3 separate regions of the Homo sapiens genome follow, and all the other regions are linked to region 1. Evidence: promoter capture Hi-C in 16 types of primary human blood cells and fetal thymus (Javierre and others, 2016). All regions are on one chromosome and are shown on one strand. The core of a region is centred on a gene start or on the middle of the fragment in contact, and the rest is flanking DNA. Distances in the headings are between cores, read along the strand shown.

Evidence for each region. Contacts are between HindIII fragments. The CHiCAGO score rates a contact against its expected background, and 5 or more counts as called.
Region 2: a contact is called between the fragment with the promoter of KRTAP21-3 here and the fragment with the promoter of KRTAP23-1 in region 1, in 3 of 17 cell types (erythroblasts, endothelial precursors and naive B cells). The highest score is 7.9, in erythroblasts.
Region 3: the fragment with the promoter of KRTAP20-1 here is called in contact with the fragment with the promoter of KRTAP23-1 in region 1 in 5 of 17 cell types (naive CD8 T cells, M1 macrophages, M2 macrophages and 2 more); the score reaches 6.5 in naive CD8 T cells.

What each region holds. Positions count from the first base shown.
Region 1 is chr21:30,346,834-30,350,094 of GRCh38, forward strand. It overlaps KRTAP23-1 (keratin associated protein 23-1), which reads right to left and starts at 1,773. Exons shown (of 1, transcript NM_181624.1): 1 at 1,566-1,773. The coding sequence starts at 1,773. The coding sequence ends at 1,576. The HindIII fragment of the contact is 4,066 bases long and covers 1-2,489 here.
Region 2 is chr21:30,717,133-30,720,393 of GRCh38, forward strand. It overlaps KRTAP21-3 (keratin associated protein 21-3), which reads right to left and starts at 1,645. Exons shown (of 1, transcript NM_001164435.1): 1 at 1,393-1,645. The coding sequence starts at 1,627. The coding sequence ends at 1,451. The region is part of intron 2 of LOC105372773 (a long non-coding RNA gene); the gene reads right to left. The HindIII fragment of the contact is 10,011 bases long and covers 1-1,770 here.
Region 3 is chr21:30,614,972-30,618,232 of GRCh38, forward strand. It overlaps KRTAP20-1 (keratin associated protein 20-1), which reads left to right and starts at 1,454. Exons shown (of 1, transcript NM_181615.2): 1 at 1,454-1,728. The coding sequence starts at 1,484. The coding sequence ends at 1,654. The HindIII fragment of the contact is 4,063 bases long and covers 240-3,261 here.

The DNA.
Region 1 (3,261 bases), core at 523-3,022:
CTTACCTCAGATCACATGCTCATTCCTGAGCCAATCACTTTCAGTAGGCATTGGGGCGCTCTAGAGTAGCCAAATTCAATCCTTAAGCCTAAGGCATAATCACGTTCATTTGCAGGACTATGTGTGGACGAGGAGGGATGCACAAACAAAATCCAATTTCCATAGAAAGAAGAGCGAGAAGGAAAACAGCTGTGAGAGCAGTGAACGATGAGCTACCCACCTCCATTTAGATATTTGAAAATGTATATGACTGTGTTCCACTTAATGTAAGAATATAATGGACTGTCTAGTTTTGCATCCAGATACAAGCCCAGGATATCAAGAGGTAAAGTCTTATCTCTCAGTCCGTGTCACCTATGCATGATACTGCCAGGTTTCAGACAGTTTTCAGGTGACTTCTATTATAACACCGGATGGCTTTATAGTGACCTAATGAAAGGAGGAGGGAGTGAACCATCAAATTAAAAAAAAAAAAACTCTTAGATATTATATTCTTCTTATTATAGTGGAATGCATACATCTTTAATTTCATGTATACCTAAACTATTTGTTTCATTACACTTGCTACTGAACTCAGTTAAAATCCTGACCTCAGAATTTCATTGTGGCTTATATATGTCTGGGAAGGAAGATTACAGGAAGGATTTTGATAATGTTCTCATAAAAACAGCCAGGCTAGTACTTGCTAAAACATCACTGCTGTCTCTGGATATTTTCTTCCTAGACTAGACCCATGAGTAGCTTAACCAAAGTGAAGTGTCCTGATTAGGCCTAAATGGCCATGAATAGAAAAACAGAGATAATCTCCTGTCCTATCTCTGAGTCTACTTGGCAGAAATTCCCAGGAACTAGATCTCTGTTGTTAGAAAACTCTGCCTATCAAGGAACCTACTCCTTTCCCTCAAAGTGAATATTTTATTTTTAGACAAAAAGTGGGGGTTTCAAATTCCCGACAGACATCTTATAAAGAAAATTAACACAAGATTTGTGATCTGATATCAGATTAAATGAGTTTATTTGAAGAAAAAGAAATCAACTCTTGCTCCATTTTTAACTAGAGAAGGAAGGGAAAATACAAGAAAACAGAAGAAAAAGAGATGAGTATTCTATGAGAAATGTTATTTTAATATTAATAAGTTTAAAACAATTATCTTTTCTGGATAGTAGAATATAGGTTCTAGCCAGATGATAGCTGAGATGGACTTTGAGAGAAATAATTGTAATGTGGAGGTTTGGAGCCCTTAGCAAGTTGATCGGTAGAAGCCAGATCCACAAGTTGGTCTGTAACAGGAAGACTGGAATGTCCTAAAGAGAACATATGTTGGGTGGCAGAATCCAGATCCATAGCCCAGGGAAGGGAAGCCACAGCCTCCATAACCCAGGGATCTGACGCCACTGGACCCACGGCCCACTGAGTAGCAGCTCCTAGATCCATAGCCCAGGGAGCGGCAGCTGCTGGATCCAAAGCCTAGAGACTCAGAGTAAGTCGACTGGCAGGGACTGCAGAGCACGGAGCTTCTGGGGCGGTAGCAGGAGGTCTGGCAGGGGCTGGACTCCACACAGGACATCTGGCAGCTAGGGGTTTCCCAGCAAGTCTCCTGAAAGCCCTTGCAGAGAGAGGAACCCAGCTGGCAGGTGCTGGGAGATCAAAGGTTCAGTGCTGTAGACCAGGTTGCTGGGGTACGAGGAGCCACCACGGGAGTAGCCTGAGTAGCACAGGTAGCCCTCACAGGAATGGGAGGAGAAGTTTCCACAGCAGCAGTTGTAGGACATGTTGACAGGAGATGTGAGTTCAGCTGAGCTGCATTGAGAAGATGCCCTGATGTCCCTGCCTGTGCCCAATGATCCAGTGATGTTTACACCCTCACACTGCTGGGCGTGATGCAGTATCCGGGAACCCCCCCATTCTTGTGAATGTGTTTTCATCAAATGACTAAGTAACCTAGGTTATAATTATAACTCAACACATTCATTTGTCTTTAACAGCAGTGTAATCATTCCAGTTTATAGAAGCCCATTGGCTTCTCTCTCTCTCTCTCTCTGTCTCTTTCTCTCTCTCTCTCTCTCTCTCTCTCTCTGCAGAAATAAGGTTTGGTTTGCTTTCAGAAACATTGGTGATGATACATACAGTGCCTCCCCACCCCTTTTACTGAGCTTGACTGTGGGTATTCTGAGCTTCAGCCTACAAATTCTTACCAGCAATGTACTCCCAACAGTAATCAGCAGCCACCCACCCCCCATTATTTACATATGTTTTATTAAGCATTAACTACATGCGCAACATTTAAAAGTGTGGTATGATTTAATCTTTGCAAATATCTTATGAGATACAAGTTGTCATAAACAATTTAGAAGTAAGGCCATGGAGGTTTGGAAAAGTTATGTAACATTCAGGTAATAAATCAAACAAATCATGGACCCCATGTCATCCCAGGTGTGTCTGTCTTTAAGGCTAGCACAAACCACAGAGCTATATAGACAATTTGTGAAGCTTGTAATTTCTGCTCCCAGAATCACATGGACAATTGAGTATGCAGGTGAAAAAAAAATTCCAAGGTGTTAATATTTGCATTTCATCTGATATATCTACTTGAGTATTCTTACCCCTTTTATGAATTCCCCAAATATAGCCAACTGAGGGGACAGCTTCTTAATTGATTTTGGTTATTTTTTTAGTATTCAGAGTTACTATGGAGATGCTTTGTTACAAATTATCTTCTATTTGCCCTCTCACTCAGTTTATCCTAGTTAAGCAACTCATGTTTTATCCACCATGGAGTTATTAGATTCTTTTTCAGTGTGAGGCAGAAAATTCTTTGGCAAACACAGACTTTCACTGGGACTAGTTGCGAAAAACTGATATGCCTTTAGTGAGTTGACTACCAATAAAATACATTTGCAGAAGCTTGAATTTTAATAGGGTGCCGACCTTTTGCCAACTCAGTTGGGAGTGAGAAATACGACACCTTCCAGAGTGATTCATTTCACTCCTTGCTGAGCTTCTCTTGTTCATCCTTCTAGGAAGACAAAGCAGCATAAAATTTACCATTATATTAAGTGGTTAAAATTATCTTTACCACTATAAAACATCAGTGGTATAAAGAAAAATCTTGGAATTAGAAATGTCTTTTTCCCCACTTGTTATCATATCCAACTTCTGCCTTCAAGCATCTTTTAGAAATTGGAAAGCAAAAAGCTATTTATGTAATTTGATCTTTTCAAACTGTTTCATAGATGATTGTTTTTTGTAATCTCCTGTAA
Region 2 (3,261 bases), core at 395-2,894, 370 kb after region 1:
TTGTTTGAATGGAAGAGGAGACTTATGAAATATGAAGATTAAGAAGTTTTCTGACACATGCACAGCTAGGAATGGGAACATTGGCATCTAATGTCACTCTCTGTTGCCCCAAAGCCTGTGCTTTTTAAGAAAGAGAAATGTTGTGACTACACTTTGCCATAGAGGAGAATTGTTTGATATCCCCATATAAATAGTCCTAGACTCACTTTATCATACATAGCAGTCTCATAGAGCAATTCCTTCGCCACCACAGGAATGGAGTCAGGAATTTTTTTTTTTTTTAGATGAGTCTCACTCTGTCACCGGGCTTTCTTAAATAATTTTATAATTATGTAACAAATATAACTGAAGAAAAAAACAACTGATTTTTGACTTTGATTTTGAGAGAGAGAAAGATATGAGGAGAAGTAGAAGGAGGAGGAGAAGGGAGAAGAGGAGGAAGAGGAGAAGTAGATGCAAGGTGATGAACAGGGAAATAGTGTAAGAATGTCATTTCTATTTCAAGTGGAATGTTAGGCAAAGTCTCCTAAGGAGTTCATATTAACCAGAATCCCAAAAAAAGTGACAGAACTGTCTATGAGAATGTTTGAGAAAAGGCCGACGGAATTAGAATTAGAATCATTGTGTTCGTGTGTGTGTGTGTGTGTGTGTGTGTGTAGCCAAGGCGGGTGGATTATAAGGTCAGGAGTTCGAGACCAGCCTGGCCAACATGGTGAAACCCCGTCTCTACTAAAAATACAAAAATTAGCCAGGCGCGGTGGCGGGTGCCTCAATCCCAGCTACTTGGGAGGCTGAAGCAGGAGAATCACTTGAACCTGGGAGGCGGAGGTTGCAGTGAGCCAAGATCGCGCCACTGCACTCCAGCCTGGGTGACAGAGCGAGACTCCATCTCGAAAAAAAAAAAAAATGTTTCAGTGATTCTCTCTCCTCCTCCCTTTTCTTTGGCTGATAATAATCTACTATTCTACACTAAGGATGATATCATTCCACTTCCTTTCTTCATTTTGTATATTTAGAAGTATATCTAATTAACAGGTACATATTTATTTAATATTAAATATGTGGTGGATACTGACAATTAAATAACTCAAGTTTTATGTAGAGTAGAAAAGATAAAGAGAAAAAGAGTTATTGAAAGTTAAGAAGAAATTTCTAAGAAGCTAAGGATCAACTAATCTACATAGTGGTCTGGCTTTCAAGGGGGTAAAACATGCCCCAAATTGGTGTTGACTCACACACGCACACAAAGAGCATTTTATATTTTTCAAAATTTCAAAATAGTCATATTTTCCATCTCTCAGTGAAACCACATTATGTCTATGACTAACAGGTACTTTGAAGACAAATGGAGTTTTCACCAGATGAGTCATTTTTCTCTAACGGAGAACTATCAGGATTGAAGGTGATTAAAGCAGAACAGATCTTTGAGAAACTAAATAAGAAACAATGCTCAATGGCATTTCTTAGAAGCAAAAAATATCAGATCATCTATAACAGAATATTTATTTTCATAACAACCATAATAACCGTTACAGCCACAGTGGGTGCTGTGTATACAGCCATACCCACAACCATAGCAAGAGCCAAATCCACAGCTCCCACACACACTTTTGTAATTGAAATACATAGTGTCAGGAGATGAGAATTCAGCCAGGTAACAGCATTTCTGGAGTTTGGAACCCTTGGGATCTTTCTATATAATAAGAGGTCTGCAAAGTGTGTGCCATCCCTACTTTGCCTTCTCATTCCCACAAGAATTTATATTTAACAAGCTTGTTGTTGTTTTATTCTGTGTCCTAAGAAAGCCTCTCATTTTAGACCTTCATTTAATTCCTGCAAGTTAATCATAGACTGTAAAAAGTAATTTGTACACTCTGTATACATGTTCTCAGTGAGCCCCAAATGTACACTCCACAAATATCATGATGCTAAATCTTGCAGGGAAGTACTTCCCTCAGCTCTAACCCAAAACATTGAGAATCCCCATCCCCAGCCTCCTAGAGAAAGGAAGGGGCTTAGTGATTCCTACCTTTTCAGGTGCCACCAGTATTACCATCCAATCCACAACTGTACTACTCAGGAGAGGATAGGCATAGGAAGGCTAAATTGAGAAACATGCGTTCAATTCTATAATATTAGAATTTATTGAGAACTTTCCTAAAAAACAGAACATGACAGTAGGCACTGCTGAAAATAACATAAAAATAAAAATGAAAAACATAAATAAGACCAAGAACAGACCTTCAATGAACTCCCAGCTTAGTAAGGAAGAGAAACATTTACACAAAAAAAGTCTCAGATTGATGCGGTTAGAGAAAAAGGAAAGAGAAATCCTATGAAATAGACCTCAAAACAATCCAGACCAGGTCCACTTAGGGCCTTCATCCATGCTGGGCTTTCACCTGCAGTTTTTACAATTTAACACCCATATCTATGACTCATTCCCTCATTGCCATCAGAGTGTGTTCAAATGTCACTCAAGGAGGCCCTCCCTGAACAGTATTATTTATAGCTAGCACCCTCCCACAGATATATCTTTATTCTCTACTTAGCATTTATCAAGCCATTTATCACCATATGATAGACTTGCATTTTACTAATTTTGTTGACTGTTTTTCTCACTGGAATATAGGATATCTGTGAAGGCAGGAATTTCTTTTTTTCTTTAGGGAATAAAATAGATTTTAAAAAAGTATAATAAACTGGGGCCAAATAATAAAGAGCTTTGAATATTAAGGTAAAAAGTGTGGAATTCATTCTAAAGGTAATGGAGAACCAGAGAAGATTTTGAGCAAATTAATGGCATAATCAGCTCAATATTTTGAGATACAGAAATCACAACCATTTATCCAGTGTACTTAGTAATGTCCTATTTCTTCGAAACCATTATTTGCTAAATTATTCTCTTGAGCAAAGATCTTTCCTTGAGCACTAGCCATGGTTGCATTGAATTTGTGGCATTTTATTTTCCAATTATGTTTCCAGGAACACTAGGACTGGGAGGTATTAAAATGTATTCCAAGAAATAGAGTTTCCAAGATTTTAAAATGTGCTATCAAACACTATAAAATAAAAACACCTTCAGAGTATTCACAATTTACATATGCGCTGTAAGTTTTACTTGCACCTAAATGCCAGGTATTGTAGTAGGAGTACAAACTGGAACGCCATGATAGCATTTTAATTATCCTTAGGAGGACAACTGTGTAAAGAAAACCAGCTTGACATTCTTCAATAAACTAACATATTTGTGTAACAAAA
Region 3 (3,261 bases), core at 204-2,703, 270 kb after region 1:
CAAATTTTACCTCTACTATCCATAGCTGTCTGACCACTGTTAACTACATGCTTCAGCTGCCCTATCTGCAAATGGGATTGTAATAATGATACCTACCCCACAAGGAAATTTAGAAAATCAAATCTTTTGATACATACCAGACACTTTGAATAGTGTTTGGTTCATAGTAGGAACCAGAATACTAGAATAAATTTTGCTGTCTTTACTTATTTCATCCCATCCCTGTTTTTCTGGATAGAAGCTTCAGTAGAGAGTTGATCAATTGAATAAGAGAACTCAGGCATGCTTAAGTTCTCATTTAGGGGCATTATGTCCTTGAAGCTGAAGGGAAGAGAAACTCTGCATTGAGGATGTACATCTAACAACAGAGAAAGTCACATCCTGGTTTTACTGAGAAGGGGAAAGTCCTACCAAGTTCCCCAACACACATAGCACAAGCAGGGGGAGATACAATGATTGGTTCTCACCCAGGTGGATCTGAGTGGAGACTCATTGATTTCCTTACTACAACCAAAGACTGTTCTGGCTGTAGAGACCCAAGGATGTAACACTTCATGCTAGGTAATGGATTGAACAGAGTTTTATTTTTGTGGCAGTGGAAAATGGCAATATGTGTTATGCCATCCAAAGGTGTCAGTGCAGAACAGGTATGGTCCTCCTCAAAACCAACAGCATATCACTGCACATCGAAGCACACCTCAGGCAGAGAATGAGGAGTGGTAATGTCTTTATTGCAATTGTATTTTAATACTGACAACCAGAAAGTGATTGAATTTTGTTGAGTTTACCTGAAAGGGACAAGAATAAATGTTTTGCCATTTAGTGGAAATAATGAATCAAGATAGAATTTGGTATAACAGTAAAATAAAGTGCATTTGTACGTTTGTAAAGTTGTATCCTGTAAAAATGTTACCTGACTTATGTATTTAAAGTGAAATAAACTGTTCTATCTCTGAAGAAATATTGGGCAATATTACAGATCTCATACTCGAAAGACTTGCCCCTTAGGCACATCTGTCTCCCCAAAGCCATGCAGACAGACTTCTTCAACTGCAACTGGTAGATGAATGTAAAGGAATTAACAAGCCAAAACCAATTTGAATCAGATGAGATTTGCATAGTTTCTGTTATTTCATAGAATCTCATCATGAAATTTTAGTATGTGCTCTCAGGAAAAAAGGATGTTAAAACCAGGTTAAAAAAAATCTGTCATTCAAATCACATTCTTTGATTGTGAAAATCTTGACACAACACTAGAGGAATCCTAGCTATGAAGGCTTCACTATGCCTAATGAAATAAGAGATTTATGAGAGTGTTGCCTTGGCGGTGTTAGCGGTCAACCCAAAATAATTCATAATAAGAGCAACATTGCCTGTGATTTGCCACACCTACTACTGAGGAAGTATAAAAGACCTGTGAAGATGGAGATGTTCAAATTCAAGAACATCCTCTTCTACACCTGAACCATCCATTTCTGACACCATGATTTACTACAGCAACTATTATGGTGGCTATGGGTATGGTGGGCTTGGCTGTGGCTATGGCTGTGGTTATCGTGGCTATGGATGTGGTTATGGTGGCTATGGAGGCTATGGAAATGGCTACTACTGCCCATCTTGCTATGGAAGATATTGGTCATATGGTTTCTACTGAACAATTCTAGAGCTCACCAGATTTGTCTGCTTGTGAAACCTGGATTCTCATGCTGCTCTTGTTCATCTGATCCTGTGTCTTCAAAACAGCAGAAACCTAAACTAGGCTATTATCAAAGAACTACAGATGCTGTCTTTCTCTGGTTCTGTTGTGCAAGATGATAAAGAATAGGTTTTAAAATGCAATTCTTTGATTCTTAAGTCCTTTAAATAAATTTAGTCTGTTTGCAAATATAGTGTGTTTTCATGTTTATTATTTTCATTGTCAACTTTGCATGTGGATGATGGTAAGATGGAAACCTGTGGATAATTACTATCCCAAGGGGTTGACACTACATCTTATTTCATTTTCCTATTTTTTGTCCTTCTGTATATTTCTCACACTATTTAAAACTGAGCTTCTGTAGGGACACAGTTGATTGCTTTCTCTTCAAATAATTTCTACTTGAGCTTGACAAGCTACACACCTAAGGCTGGTGGCTGCATGCTGCTGACTGTCCTTGTTTCTCCAGAGCACATAGAAACACATACACATTTTAAGTTGTGGCTTCCATGAGTTTTCCAAGTTGTCTGCCTTCTGGTAGCTTCATCACTATGAAGCCTCTCAGTTGCCTGATGTTGTTGATATAGATCCTGTATACAGGAAGTGCTGTGCCATGTCTGGGAACCTGGATGTCTTTATAGGAAATCTCTTTATGATAGGCGATTTTGATAATGAAGTTCATTTCATATTTCATTGCATTCATGCAACAGCTCCTAAAGTATTCTAGGCATGCTGCTATATTGGGAGAGAGCATCTTTTCATGAATATTCAAGATTATTTCTGTTGTAATATTACTAAATTTTATCTAGTTGTATACTTTATAAAACTGGTATTTGTGTACTATTAGAATATTCTAATTGGGTTTTACATTTTTTCCAAACGGAAGAGTTTTAGTGAATTTTTACCACATGGTATGAAAATCAAACTTCTCAATTAATCTGTAAAAATAAACTATTGACATTAAGGAAACTATATTAGGGAAATTTAAAAAACAAGTTATACAACTAGATAATGGGATTAAAAGTTTGTATCATGATTTAATGAATACAGCAAACAATATATCTTTTCCAGTAATTAGAATAAAATGAATCTAGAAACAGAACTCCAAATCTATGCATTGCCAGTTCTTAAAATTTTCTAAAATATCAAAACATACCTAAAATAATATATTTACTATTATACATATTGTATATGTGTTATTGCTAATGATTATTAGCAATAACACATGTATAAAATTTATAAATAAATGGTTGAATTGAAATTGGGAATGCAGGTTCAAAATATTTACAGTATGGTTTTCTCATCTCACAAGTTTGAAGATCTCTGCTCTCGACCAAATTTTCTCAAGGTGTGGTCTAGGGACGCATGTGGGAACCAAAGACCCTTTTGAGGTCTCGATAAGGGCAAAATTATTTTCATAATACATTTTTCATTTTTACTGCCATACATTCATGAATGAACGGTGGAATTTTCCAGATATATGCATGTTATCACAACAGACTAAAAGCTAAATCAGATATGAGAAACTGTCTTCCATTAAGCGAGACATTAAAGAGATTGACCAA